5 separate regions of the Homo sapiens genome follow, and regions 1, 2, 3 and 4 are each linked to region 5. The links are contacts of gene promoters, found by promoter capture Hi-C in blood cells and fetal thymus (Javierre and others, 2016). All regions are on one chromosome and are shown on one strand. The core of a region is centred on a gene start or on the middle of the fragment in contact, and the rest is flanking DNA. Distances in the headings are between cores, read along the strand shown.

Evidence for each region. Contacts are between HindIII fragments. The CHiCAGO score rates a contact against its expected background, and 5 or more counts as called.
Region 1: a fragment that was not itself captured here is called in contact with the fragment with the promoter of CRYGB in region 5 in 6 of 17 cell types (naive B cells, non-activated CD4 T cells, activated CD4 T cells and 3 more); the score reaches 7.9 in naive B cells.
Region 2: a fragment that was not itself captured here is called in contact with the fragment with the promoter of CRYGB in region 5 in 1 of 17 cell types (naive B cells); the score reaches 5.5 in naive B cells.
Region 3: a fragment that was not itself captured here is called in contact with the fragment with the promoter of CRYGB in region 5 in 4 of 17 cell types (activated CD4 T cells, non-activated CD4 T cells, total CD4 T cells and 1 more); the score reaches 6.5 in activated CD4 T cells.
Region 4: a contact is called between a fragment that was not itself captured here and the fragment with the promoter of CRYGB in region 5, in 1 of 17 cell types (total B cells). The highest score is 6.1, in total B cells.

Annotation. Positions count from the first base shown.
Region 1 is chr2:206,686,452-206,689,151 of GRCh38, forward strand. All of the region lies in intron 9 of DYTN (dystrotelin), which reads right to left. It also overlaps the pseudogene VPS26CP1. Among named protein-coding and RNA genes, the nearest start is that of DYTN, 31 kb to the right of the region's middle. The HindIII fragment of the contact is 1,117 bases long and covers 736-1,852 here.
Region 2 is chr2:206,816,634-206,819,333 of GRCh38, forward strand. No RefSeq gene overlaps it. Among named protein-coding and RNA genes, the nearest start is that of MIR3130-1, 35 kb to the left of the region's middle. The HindIII fragment of the contact is 3,645 bases long and covers 1-2,700 here.
Region 3 is chr2:206,648,909-206,651,608 of GRCh38, forward strand. It overlaps FAM237A (family with sequence similarity 237 member A), which reads left to right. Exons shown (of 3, transcript NM_001102659.3): 3 at 1-457. Among named protein-coding and RNA genes, the nearest start is that of FAM237A, 7.8 kb to the left of the region's middle. The HindIII fragment of the contact is 610 bases long and covers 1,012-1,621 here.
Region 4 is chr2:206,789,974-206,792,673 of GRCh38, forward strand. FASTKD2 (FAST kinase domains 2) reads left to right here. Exons shown (of 12, transcript NM_001136193.2): 11 at 599-713; 12 at 1,710-2,700. The coding sequence ends at 1,829. Among named protein-coding and RNA genes, the nearest start is that of MIR3130-1, 8.0 kb to the left of the region's middle. The HindIII fragment of the contact is 468 bases long and covers 1,062-1,529 here.
Region 5 is chr2:208,144,886-208,147,585 of GRCh38, forward strand. It overlaps CRYGB (crystallin gamma B), which reads right to left and starts at 1,273. Exons shown (of 3, transcript NM_005210.4): 1 at 1,227-1,273; 2 at 889-1,131. The coding sequence starts at 1,235. The region is part of intron 2 of LOC100507443 (a long non-coding RNA gene); the gene reads left to right. RefSeq lists an enhancer at 465-1,088. The HindIII fragment of the contact is 1,715 bases long and covers 28-1,742 here.

The DNA of each region.
Region 1 (2,700 bases), core at 44-2,543, 1.5 Mb before region 5:
GATAACCAGCAGGATATCCACAAGGCCACCCCTGTTTTCTGTGCTTCCCTCCTCCTGGGCTGAGTCCTGCAGAGCTGCAATAGGAAGTTCTCTGTGACCAGGTGGTTAGCATGAAGACGCATGTCGATGGTGGCCTCAAATTCCACTTTGAAGTTGGTCTTCAGCATGCGGCAGGTAAACAGCCTGGAGAAGACCATGTATATAGGGACAGAGAGGCCCCTACAAATGTCCCCATGGGCATCTGAATATAAGGAAACTCTGTGGCATCATTGGCATAGCTTTTTGCACACCCACAGGTCTCCATGTGCACCAGTTGCAGCCCCATGCCTTTTCACCACCAGCTCTCCTGTAAGCAGCTGCACGATGACACAATTCATTGAGTTGGGGTGTTCTCGAATGAGAAATCTGGGGAGCAAGGCTCTCTCTTTGATATTCTGTAAGGTTGCAGGTATAATCTGTGAAGTCCACAGGACTTGGAGTCAACTTCCCCTCCTGAGGAGCAGAGTGGATGGTAAATTCACCGGCCTTTGTCAAGTCCTTGGTCAACAGAGACTGCCTCATGTCACAGCGTAGTGTATACTGAATGTCTGATAATAAGTCTCATACAGAACTTTGTTACCCCTCACATACAGAAGAAATGCGAAATAAATTTGTTTTGCCATAGGGAAATTTCCCTGGCTTCATCCTTTCTATGGCACTGTTGATAATCTGGATAGGTTTAATGGAATTATAAAAAGCTTCAAAACTGCCCACACTTTTGGCACTGAGCTGGGGGATTGCAATTCCTTCCATTGTCAAAGACACTACTTGATGTGGGACTGAATCCTTACAAGATACGACCACCACACTGGAGAGCATTTCTCCAGCATGAGAAACTATTTGCTCTTCCATCTTGATGTCCAGGGAGGTCCCTGTTTTGAATTCTCCACAGCAGCCAACACTTCTGACCTCACATCAAGTTTTTCTTATCAATTTTTCAGGGACCCTTTTAATAGCATCATTTATCTTATTACCGAAAATATTTTTCTAAGTCTAGGGCTTATTTTTAATTTTGTTTATACTATCATTTACCATAACAAAATGTTTAAAATTACATGCTATCATATATATCTGTCTATTCCTTCATGATTTTTTGTTTTTCTTTCTTCCTTAGGAGATGTTCTTTTTTCTAATATTTATTTTAAATTCTTTTTACATTTAAATTTCAATCAATTTGGAATTTGTTTTAGTATATGGGGCAAAATAAGGGCCAATTTTCCTTTCAGATGGATAGCCAATTATGCATTATTTTTCCATGAATTGAAATATCACCTTTATCATATATTAGGTTCCCATATATGCTTAGATCAATTATTATATTTTGTATTCTCATCCTTAGACCTACATGTTCATTCCCGTTTTATACTATATTATTTGGTCATAGTAGTTTTATAGTAAGTGTTAATATCTGTTGTATTAACATCTGTTCTTCAGATATTAATGTCTCTCACTATTCTTCAGTCTCATAATTTTACTATTCTTGTACAACTATTCTTCCAACATACCTTCAAAATTATTTTATCCTATTTAGAAAACCTTGTGATTCTATCTGGAAATGCATTAAATTTAAATACAGTAGATTATGCTCTATAAGGCTACCATGAACAGTGAATTAGGAAATACTGAACCCATTGTTCCTAGAGAAAATACAGGGTTAGGTTCCTGCAAGCCTCTGGCCACAATATTTTTGTCAACCAATCAATGCACAACCTTGTTTTATGTGTTTCTGTATAAAGATGCTTTTTAAATATATATTGTTGATTCATTAGCATTAAACTCATGGTCAACAGCAATATAAATCATACCTGAATGAAGCTTATTTAACGTGTGTATTTTTTCATTAAGGCACATCGTAGCCTTGCTGTGCTTGGGAACACTAGACAGCAATTCAGTACCGTGCTTTGGGGCCATTTGCCAAAGTAAAATCACCAACAAAAAGCACAAATATAAAAAAACAAGACACAAAATAGACACGAAAAGGACACTTGCTTATAGAATGAGGGCTGAAACAGTAACACAGAGCACTATCTGGTTTGACCTCAGCTGGGAACACGTGCATCAGGCAACTCAAAATTTTTTTGCCACTCTGCTTATGTCTGCAAATACTGAAAAAGCACCAGGAGTGTTAATTTTAGGGTTACAAATAAATTTTTGCAAGTAGGCAAATTTGTAAGTATTGAATCTGCAAATAACAAAAATCAGCTATTAATTTTTGGAGCAGGTACATTCTTATGCTAGTCTTCTCATTTAGAAATTTGGCATTTTTTCCTTTTGTTCAGGACTTGTTTTCTGTACTCAATAAAATATTATAATTTTATTTGGGTCTTGTATCTTTTTTGTTAAACTTTTTTGTAGTTTCTTTTAAAAATAATTTTTACATGTATTTTGAATGAGATTCTTACAAAATTTATAGCTGGTTATTGCTAGTAGAGTGAAGAATTTTGTATATGTTTATTTTATTTTTCCACCATCATTTGAAGCCTATTAATTCTAGTAATTTTTGCTAGTTACTTGGGGTTTCTTAGTAATTCACAATTAAATTAGCTACAAAGAGAAGTAATTCTGTCTGTTATTTTTCTGCAGTTTAATTTTCTTTTTAACTATGTTTTCAAGAACTTCCTGAAATATTTAATAAGAGTGATGATATTTGGCACCTAACTT
Region 2 (2,700 bases), core at 173-2,672, 1.3 Mb before region 5:
TCCAGTTGATTAGCAACCAAATTCCATCTGCGACCTCAGTTCCTCTTGCCATGTAATGTAACATATTTATAGTTCCTGAGAATTAGGATATCTTTAGGGTGAAGGAGGATGTCATTATTCTGCCTACCATTCACAGTAAGCACAAATAATTGGTAACTATGGAATTTTCTATCATTATCATTACTATTATTATGTATAGTATTAGTAAAAGTAGTCCTTACTCTACCAAAAAGGGTGCTCGAAACAGGATTTGAGACAACAGAAAAAGCTCTCAAAATCCACAGCCACCTTAATCAAATGTTGGCCTGCCTGGAGTTTTTTGCTGCATCTCTGTTGTCTGACAATCAAACTCTAACAGATTTGGGTGGCTCCCTAGTTGGACCCCATACCTGGAGAGCCACCACTGGGATGAAGTTTCACTTCAAGTGTCTTGTCTTAATGTGTTTTTAATTATGAGAGGCTTTATTTCATTCGTGTTAACTTTTAAAAATTATTTTCTCGGCTGGGCACGGTGGCTCACGCCTGTAATCCCAGCACTTTGGGAGGCCGAGGCGGGCCGATCACGAGGTCAGGAGATTGAGACCATCATGGCTAACACGGTGAAACCCCGTCTCTACTAAAAATACAAAAACAAAATTAGCCGGGCGTGGTGGTGGGCGCCTGTAGTCCCAGCTACTCGGGAGGCTGAGGCAGGAGAATGGCATGAACCCAGGAGGCAGAGCTTGTAGTGAGCTGAGATTGCGCCACTGCCCTCCAAAAAAAAAAAAAAATTATTTTCTCAAAATGCACTAATTCCTAAAGCCCAGGAATTCCCCTTCAGGCGGAAAGCCTTAAAGGAGTCGAATGAATAAACCTAGAGATGGCAGTGGGAGCTCCTGATAATGTGCATCCAGGAATGGTATCTTGACACTGGAGAGTAATGCCAGTGCCTGTCAGACCCCATAAGAAAATAAGACGACCAGAGACATGCCTGCTCTTCTTTCCACAGCAAACAGAATGAGAGAGAATAATCCGCACATGACTGTCGGTTAGTAAGAAGGAAAACATTCTGGCCAGTGTTCCACCTCGGAACACGGTGACCAGAGGAGATCATGGAGCTACATCTCTGGAGGTCTCATCTGCTTGGGATGGTTTAGGTGTGGTTCTAGATAATGTTAGGCAGATGGCTGAGGTCCACCCAATTCCTTCCTTCCCTTATGAGTTAGTGAATTTCCTATCTCTATCTTTAAATTCTCCTTGGACTCAGTAGAACTGTCTCCTAGGTCGGGTGTACATTATTGCTTCCACAGTTCTCTCCAGGGCAATCGAGCAACTGAAAACATCTGTTTTTCACTGTCTAAAATGGATTTATCCCGTATGAGTTACAGGTTCTCTGACTTCACTCAGTATATTCTAGTTTGGGGGAACAGTGTCTTAATGTCACCACCACACTCTCTAATTAGTACATAAGAAGGCTTTATTTCTACTTGTCCTCTTCTTTCTCATCTATGTGTTTATTCAAATTGCTTTTTCCCCCATGAATCTTTTAAAATCTCTGTTCTTATAATTTGCTATGCCTTCAATTATTATCATTTTTCTTTGCTAGTTATTTCTCCCTCCTTTGATTTAGTCAATATATTTTATCAAAATAATTTAATGGTGATTCTTTTATAAGAGCAAACAACCACCTCTCTAAGTTCATATTTTTTTTTTGCAATCTGATTTGCTTAAGGAGAATGTGCTTGAATTCCTAGTCTTAAGCAATAGGAAAGAACAGCTAATACAAGCTAAAGAACCCAGGTGATTGTCTCTTTTCTCAAGAAATCTACTCATAATGAGTAAATATAAGAAATCCTATTTGCATTATCCCTACAGTTTTCATCCTTAGGTCCTTTACATTTCTGTGCTGCTAATGTATATATTTCCTACTGCTGGGAGAAGGGAGGAATGTGAAAGAAGGAATTTATGTTTTTGTTGACTTCCCTTTTACCCAAATTGACCCTCTTTGGAAATATAAGCTATCGTTTCTGTTGCATAAAAGAAGTAAATGTTGCTATTTACTGTTAGTAAAATAAATGGAAAAGAGCAAGGATATATCAACTGTGAAGTTGTTCCTTTTACTTGAGAACAGGGATAGAATCTTGGACTCTTGAGTGTGTAAATTCAATAAATGCAATAGCAGTTAAATAAATAAGTTGATATTTAAGTATGTAAAATGATTGTTTTAAATTCTATCCAATAATTTCAGAGACTTTGCTTTGAATAGCATCTCTCTCTCCTTTTTTTTTTTCCAGGTTTTTGCACAATTCAGGTTTTTTTTCCAGTCTTTTTGAAATACAACCTGAATTTACTGAAGTTTTATTTCCTAGTCTTAATACACTTGAGCATCTCCAAATCTTAAGTCAGTTTCCAGATGTAAGCTGGCAGATACCAGAGGAATAGACTTGAGTCAGTCATCATTATGGCTGAACTGCTAAGACAGTGAGGGTTTCAGTGAGGTGAAGTTGCTAGCTCTGGTGTTAGACTGACCCAGCTTCTCTCCATGGCTCTGCCATTTACAAGCTATGTGGACAAACCTCTTAACCAGGGTGAGCATAATAATCACCCAAACCAGGATACTTTTGAGAGTGAATAGTGGTGTCATTAATAATTATGCCAGGATAACATGTATAAATCAGGACTCTCTTGGCCAAACCAGAATGCATGGTCACCCAACTCTTA
Region 3 (2,700 bases), core at 67-2,566, 1.5 Mb before region 5:
GAACCCAAATTCTCTCAGTATACTAATTTAAAGCTGCCTTCTATTATTTATTTATTTATTTTAGGCTGCTAGCATGTTTCTTCTAATGGTGACATTACTGCCAGTCTATCCCACAGTCTAAAGGAGTTAAATAACTTCCAGAGATGACTTGAGGATTCTTTGTATTCATTTAATAGTTCATTTTGGGATGCTTGACATGTTAATAAACTAGTGTGCCATACATTTAACTTGAATACACTGCATGGCTTCCAAGACTTCAACCACTGGATTGCTTATGCACAGGCACATAAGGGACTACATTTTGGAATTACTAGTTACTGACAATCTATGATATCTGAATCTTGTTTGACAGCATATTTTTGAATACTGAATGAAGCAAAAAGTAAAACAAAACAAAAAACTGGCAAATAAAGCATTCTTCTAATGAAAACAAAATTAATAAAAGCTCTGGACCCCAGGTAATGTTATTGGAGTCTCTTTATTTCAATATTTAATGTTATCACTAATGACATCCAAACTCTAATAAAATAATGTTTAAGTGTAAATAGGTACAAATTATTTCCCAATAAGCATATTTGTTATTTGATTAAATATTATAACTCTATAAGTGGTTACACTTTGCATTGAAAAACAAAATAAAGCGAACAGCATTATAAGAGAAGAACCCATAAATAATTATTTTCCTGAAAAATGACCAGGCCCGAACAAGGTTTATAGCAGAGAAGTCCAATTAGCAAATGTATTTGAGTTAGAGACACAATGCTATTTTTATCTCTAATTATTCCCAACTCTCCAATCATTCTATTATAACCAATATGTAGGATTGACAGCCAGTTTGAATTTCAGATATGTTAGCAATTCCCTTGCTTTTTTCAGGTCCAAAGGAAGCCTCAGTAAATCTTTTCATTGAAGGATTAGGGCCCTCCTTAAACTAGAAATTGCATCTAAAGGGTTATTATCAGAAAACAGTTTCATTTGAGGATTAGTTGAGTCTTCACAACAAGAAAAGGAAGCTTGGGGAAAGAGGTGGGGGAGAAGGCCCAGCCTCAGCTTTTGGCTCCTTGGGAAAATTAGTATTTTATTAAAAAGTTGCCACCCTTTGACTACTTTTTCAACATACAGGCTCATGATTTTGCATTGATGGTGCTTTTTCTAACGTTTTTCATCATATTCTTCAAAACTATCACGTAAATTCACTATCTCTTATAAATCATCAAAGAGAAACTACACTTGGAGAATGAGCTTGCAGAAGAGCCTGCCCTTTGTTCTTCCCTCACCTTGGTACTCCACAACGGGGATTGGCAATCTTTTTCTGTAGAGTCTGATAGTAAATATTATAGGCTTTCTGGGCCATCCAGTCTCTGCTGTAACTAATCAATTCGGCCTCGGCGGAACAAAAGCAGTTATCACAATACATAACTGAGTGAATATGGTTGTGTTCCAATAAAACTCTGTTTATGGACACTGAAATCAGAGTCCATACACTTTTCAGGTGCCACAGAATATTTTTCTTTGGACTTTTTCAATTTTTTAAAAAGATATAATAACCACACTTAGCTCATAGCCTGTTCAAAACAGGGAGCAAGCCGAATTTGGCCCAGGGACTGCAGCTTGCTGATGAAGCTTACCAAAAGTGTAAGGAACAAACTGGGATGAAGTGAAAAGAAGAGTAACTATGCTAAGCAACAAAACTAAAACCAACAGTTTATGATAGGCTGAAAAGCAGATTAAAAACTATTAGGATGAGACGGAACAGGGATAACCTAGTCCTAATCCCATCCAATGAGACATTATTTCACTCTGTAAACAGTTCTAGGAATTACAGATCATATAAAAATCCACAGCCTTTCTGAATGTAACATGGCCTGCATCTCAAGATAATAGACAAAAACATTGAAATCACCACAATGTTTATTGAAAGGAAGTACAGAGTAGTAGTTACAGTATAGGCTCAGAAGCTGAGTTCAAATCCCAGCTTCATCAAGAAGTGGCCAAATCAACTTTGGACAAGTTACTAAACCTCTTTGTGCCTCAGTTTCCTCATAAAATGAGAAACGTACTACCTAGGTTTCTTGTGAGGATTAAATGAGTCAGCACATAGAAAGTGCTTAAAAACTAAGTGCTCTAACAGTCAAAAAAGGTTAGCTATTACTTTGGGCATTAGTAAGTTAAGCATCTATAACCTAATCCAACATAACAGAGAAAGGAGGCACACTGATGCTTTAGTGAAACTTGTTGGATGTGGAGATTTTAGCGACAAACATTCATATATTAAATTTTTTATTTTGAGATACTTGATTCATATACAGTTATAAGAAATAATACAGAGACGTCTGTATGCCCTTCATCTAGTTTCCCCAATGGGAACATCTTGCATAACTATGGTACAATATTACAACTAGGAAACTGACAGTGGTATAATCCAAATTTATTCAGATGTTACCAGTTTTACATGCACTCAATTGTGTGTGTGTGTGTGTGTGTATGTATGTAGTTAGTTCTTTGCTAAGCCTATTCTCCAGCAGAAGCATCAAGATAGAAAATTAGGCCATCAATTCAGTAATTTACATGATACTTGAGGAAGACAGTTGCATGCATCTATGTAGGTCACACACTTGAATGTTACTCCGGAGGTATTCACAATAAGGATGGCCCTTCATGCAGAGATCTGACTCTGCCATATCTTCCTTCCTTCTTCAT
Region 4 (2,700 bases), core at 46-2,545, 1.4 Mb before region 5:
TCTTTTTTTTTTCTTTTTTTCTCCCAGTAAACTTAGTATTTCCAAAGTGCCAGGAACAATGAAAAAACAAATTACACCTTCCACATTTTCGTTATATTTACAGATTTTATTTTAACAGTCTTGCCTTTCTCTTGGTGTTTTCTTTCTTGTATTTAAACTCCTATTTCTGTTTTTTAAATGCTGCTTTCTCTGGGAGATGATATGTGTAAGAAGAGCATTTACTATTTGGTATTATTTACACCGTTACTACTACTGGTAGAATAAATAATTATACTCAGATCAGAAATCAGCACTACACAGAAAACCCTTAAAATTGGTGCTTTCATGTCTGAAAATTTTCCTCTTCAAAAATGTAGCCATCCTTAAAGGGAACTGAGAGGTAACTGTGTATAATGTTGTATATTTTTGATTTATAAAGTAGCCTTGTATAGTGGAATATCTGCAGAGGCCAAGTAAAAGAAGTGAAGGACTAAGACAGGAATATCAAGGATTGTGGTCGGTGGAGAGCTCAACTTGGAAATCTCCAGAGAACAAGAATGCAGCAAGACTAAATAGTAATATCAATAACTGTTCTTGTTTTGTTTATTTTTGTTTTCAGAGTAGCTGTGCTATGTGTTTCCAGATCTGCTTATTGTTTGGGTTCAAGCCACCCCAGAGGATTCCTTGCTATGAAAATGCGGCATTTGAATGCAATGGGTTTTCATGTGATCTTGGTGAGAAAAAAATGCAAATGAAATATTCTTTAATTACTGATGTACATTCTAACAGCTGCCAGGAATCTTGTGGTTGAGACTGGTTACTAGGACTAGAGGAATTGTCAGCATTATTGGAATGAGTGCTTTAGTTACTGTTTTCTTTGAAAAAGAACATTGCTAGTACACGATTTGGGTTCTGCTCAGCTGATTACTGTCATTACTAGAGCTTTTACAAATGTTGTTCTGGTCAGCTTTAATCCTTTTTTGCTAAGAAGAAGAATGCAAATAATATATTTTCATATTTAAGATACACAAAACCATATTTAATTTCCAGGTTATCTTGAACAAGGGAAGGAAAGATGTTAAAGCTTTGTTTTCATGGCCTGTGTGAAGCTGTTACAGGATGTTTGTTGCCAGAAAAGGCTGGATGGTTTTAAGAAGATGGGTCTTTCTCTTCCCTCTTATGCTTCAATTTTATTTTGTACCCCACAGCTTCTCTTGAACAGCCTCTTCTGATGTTTCTAGGTAGTAGGAACCTTACAAATACATTTATATATATGTTGCTGTTGGAATCTATCTAAATGCCACTCATTTGGTCCTGCGCATAATGTAAGATGTAAACATTCCAAGTCTTCTATTATTATACTTTAGTATTGGAAATGGATTACGTGTGGACTATTGAGATTAAGATGACTCCTTTCTCTTAGTGGGCTACTATTTAAGACTTTGTTTTTTATATTGCTGATTATATATATTCTAAGGAAGATTTTCTCAAGAAAGCAGTTTTTGCACCATTTAGAGGACCTTTAAAATTTGTATAATTTTCACAGTTAAAGCTTTCTTAAACCCTAGCATGTAGTCTTATTATGCCTTTAAAATATGAGTAGTTATAAGGTCACATTTGCTTTCAAAAAGCTATTGTCCTCATGTTACTTTACTATGTTTGGATCTCTAAACTAGCTCTTTTGTTAGTATCGTCTCACAAACTGATTATTTTCCTCTTTCTTTGGTAAGGTCAATAACTGGGAGATGGACAAACTAGAGATGGAAGATGCAGTCACATTTTTGAAGACTAAAATCTATTCAGTAGAAGCTCTTCCTGTTGCTGCTGTAAATGTGCAAAGCACACAATAAAGTGAAAATCAACCTTTTCATATTAGGAGACATGCATTTGTAAAAATTAATAAAGATGACAAGTCAGTTGTCAATGGAATTGAGCTATCTGCTAAGACAAAAAATGTTACCTCAGTTCACTATTAAAATTAATTTTAGGAGTGGAAGAAATGTTGTTACTGCCATTTAAAAATATGCTGAGAAAATTCCAGAAGGGTTATTTTTCCAACCACACCTATTCCCTCTAGTGCCCAGATATTTGATTTGTGAGCTGTACGTTTCACCTTTTCATCTTTGATCTACTAAAAACTGGTTTCTTAGTTGTGAGGTGTCACAGGCAGGTTGATGTGGGTAGTAGTCCTTGTCTTTGGAATCTGAATATTTATACTCCTGCTCTAAGCTGTTCTAAGACTTGGGGTTATGCCTTTAAATCATTTTCAAGCATTGGCCAAATAATAATTGGACAAAGTTCTAAAGTTGTCAAGTGTGTAAGAATTAGTGAGGTAGCTGTTGAAAATGAGTGAGGATGGTATTTGTATTTGTAATAAGCACTGCAGGTAGAGATATTTCATGGGTTATAATAAGAGAAACACAGATGAGATGTAGATGGTAAGGAGTCTTACTGTTGTTGGGGTCCTTCCTTTCTCTTTCTTTTTTCCCCCTTACCCCTCCCACAATTTCATGAAGTCTTTTAAATTAAATATATAGCTGAATTGTGTTGTGAATCAGACCTGAGGACTATTTTTTCGATTATGTGTGTTCATTCTTTGTTCAAATATTTGTCCAAATTCAACTATTTTGTTCAATATGCCTGTCTACCTAGTATTTGGCTCGCTGGGGATATAGTGATGAATAGGCATGGTCTCTTGTGGAACTTACAGCATGGGTTCCA
Region 5 (2,700 bases), core at 23-2,522:
TTCAAATTTCAACCTATCTGACTTTTAAGCTTCCTTTCTAGCCTCCTGCTCTCAACTTATTTATTTCCCTCAGCAGCAAGTATCACCTTCATTAACTTCTGTTTTTATGACACTGTATCCCATGCCTCCCACACACCACAATTCTAAGAATTCTGCAGTCACTGCCCAGAAAATATGGAATCTCAAACTTTAGTTTCAGATTTGGCCTTTTCTCTAATTTATACCTCTAAGTGAGCTAATAGGTACTGACCATTAAATTAGAATAGAAATCAGAAGACAGGATCCTATCTTCTCAGGAGGAATAATCAAATAGAAAAGTAAGACAAAGCAAGCAAAAGTTTGTTGTTGTTGTTGTTGTTGTTGTTATTGTCGTTTTGAGATGGAGTCTCACTCTGTCACCAGGCTGGAGTGCAGTGGCACGATCTCGGCTCACTGCAACCTCCATCTCCCGGCTTCAAGCAAGCAATTCTCCTGCCCCAGCCGCCCGAGTAGCTGGGATTTAAGAATAATGTGATTAAATAGGCCGGATGCCGTGGTTCACACCTGTAATCCCAGCACTTTGGGAGGCCGAGGCGGGCGGATCACTTGAGGCCAGGAGTTCGAGATCAGCCTGGGCAACATGGTGCAACCTCGTCTCTACTATGAATACAAAAATTGGCTGGGCATGGTGGTGCATGCCTGTAATCCCAACTACTCAGGAGGCTGAGGCAGGGGAATTGCTTGAACCCGGGAGGCGGAAGTTGCAGTGAGCCGAGATCATGCCACTGCACTCCACCCTGGGGGACAGAGCGAGACTCCGCCTCAAAAAAAAAAAAAAAAAAAAAAAGAATATCATGAAATAGCTTTTATTTCCAAAAAGATGGAAGGCAAAGACAGAGCCACACTCACCGGGGGGATGAGGCAGCAGGAGCGGATGGAGTCGCTGAGGCCCATCCATTGCTGGTAGTCAGGGTACTCCCCACGCCGCAGGAAGTACTGGTGGCCCTGGTAGTTGGGGCGCTCATAGATCATCCAGCAGCCGCTCTCCACCCTGATGGAGTTGCAGCGGCTGAAATAGGGTTGTAGGTTGGGGCAGTCAGTGGTGCATTCGTAGCTGCGGCCCTGGAAGGCCCTGTCCTCGTAGAAGGTGATCTGAAAAATGGAAGATGTGGGAGCATGGAGTGATTGGCCCCCACTGAGGCCACTGCATTAGGGCCAAGGCTGAGCATCCGGTACCCAGGACTTACCTTTCCCATTTTGAAGGAAGTGAGCAGATGTTTTCTGGTTGCTGTGTGGGACTGCGGGAACGTCACTGTATGTATAGCAGCCCTGACTGCTGCCTCCACAGGAAATCACACAAAAGGGCCCATTTTGGTGAGTAAGGGGATTTGCAAGCTCGCTGCTCTCCGTGCCCAGGTCACTGGGGTTGGCTGAATGGTTTACTCTCATTCTTTCTGGTAGGTTCGGGTTGTTCTAATTCACTAAAGCTGTTGTTGCCATCAAAATGAATAGAGTACACTTTTAGTTGAGCAAAAGGATGGGCGAAATTCTGTCTCTGTGCTTTTATTTTATAGTTTACTCTGCTTAATTGACTTCTCAAAAGTCATTAAACTAAGTAATGAATTCTGCTCAGGGACTGGTGGTGTTTTTGTGTGTGTGTGTGTGTGTGTTTTAGTTCTAAAAGCCAGAATTTAAATAGTAAGGAATCTTAAAGAAGAGGGAATCAAGTGAAGTAATCTGTGAAAGTGTGTTAAAACCCATAAAGCTTAGTTCAAATTCAAAATTCTGTGATCAGCCAGGCGAGGTGGTGCACACCTATAATCCCAGGACTTTGGGAGGCTGAGGCAGGTGGATTGCTTGAGCTCAGGAGTTAGAGACCAGCCTAGGTAACATGGTGAGACCCCATCTCTACAACAAATACAAAAATTAGCCCTGCATGGTGGCGCATACCTGTAGTCCCAGCTATTTGGGAGGCTGAGGTGAGAGGATTGCTTAAGCTCAGGAGGTCGAGGTTGCAGTGAGCCATGATTGCACCACTGCACTCCAGCCTGGGCAACAGAGCAAGACCCTGTCGCAAAAAAAAAAAAAAAAAAATTCTGTGATCATCATTGTTGGTGTTTGGGGGCTTGTCTTGAATAAAACTGATACTTGCCTGGAATTTTGTAGGCTTCTGGGGGCTGGGTATTATTTCTTGTTCATGTCTATCCCTGAGCCCTAGAGCAGAGGGTTGGCACATTGCAGGTCCTCAATAATTGGCTCTGACCTGAGCAAAAACAGATAGTTGTGGCTTTCTTCCCCCTTTCAGATCTTCCTAAGGGCCTAAATCCCTCCTTCTGCTGGTGGCTGTCCAGAGTCCTGCCTGCTGTTTGGTGTTCCTGCTCTGCCTCAAATGTTACCACTAAGTGGCTGATTGGTCTTCTCAAGGCATGGGACCAAAAGGGCTCAGAGTTGGTCCCTATTGCTGGCAGATTGGACATTCTACAGTGGAAATAGCTGGATTAGCCTTAATAAGTAGAAGTTAATGCATAGCCTTCATCCATACCACTATGAACGCTCTCTTAGTGAGCTCACTGCCAGCAGTAGGGTGGCTGATGGCAGACGCTGACTGGAATCAAATGACCAAATCATTTTTTCTACTTGGTTGTTTAGTGCCTCTTCAATGGTGGATGCCCTACACTGGGCCTTCACATGGGATACAACTATCTTCGCCCTTTGTGCCCA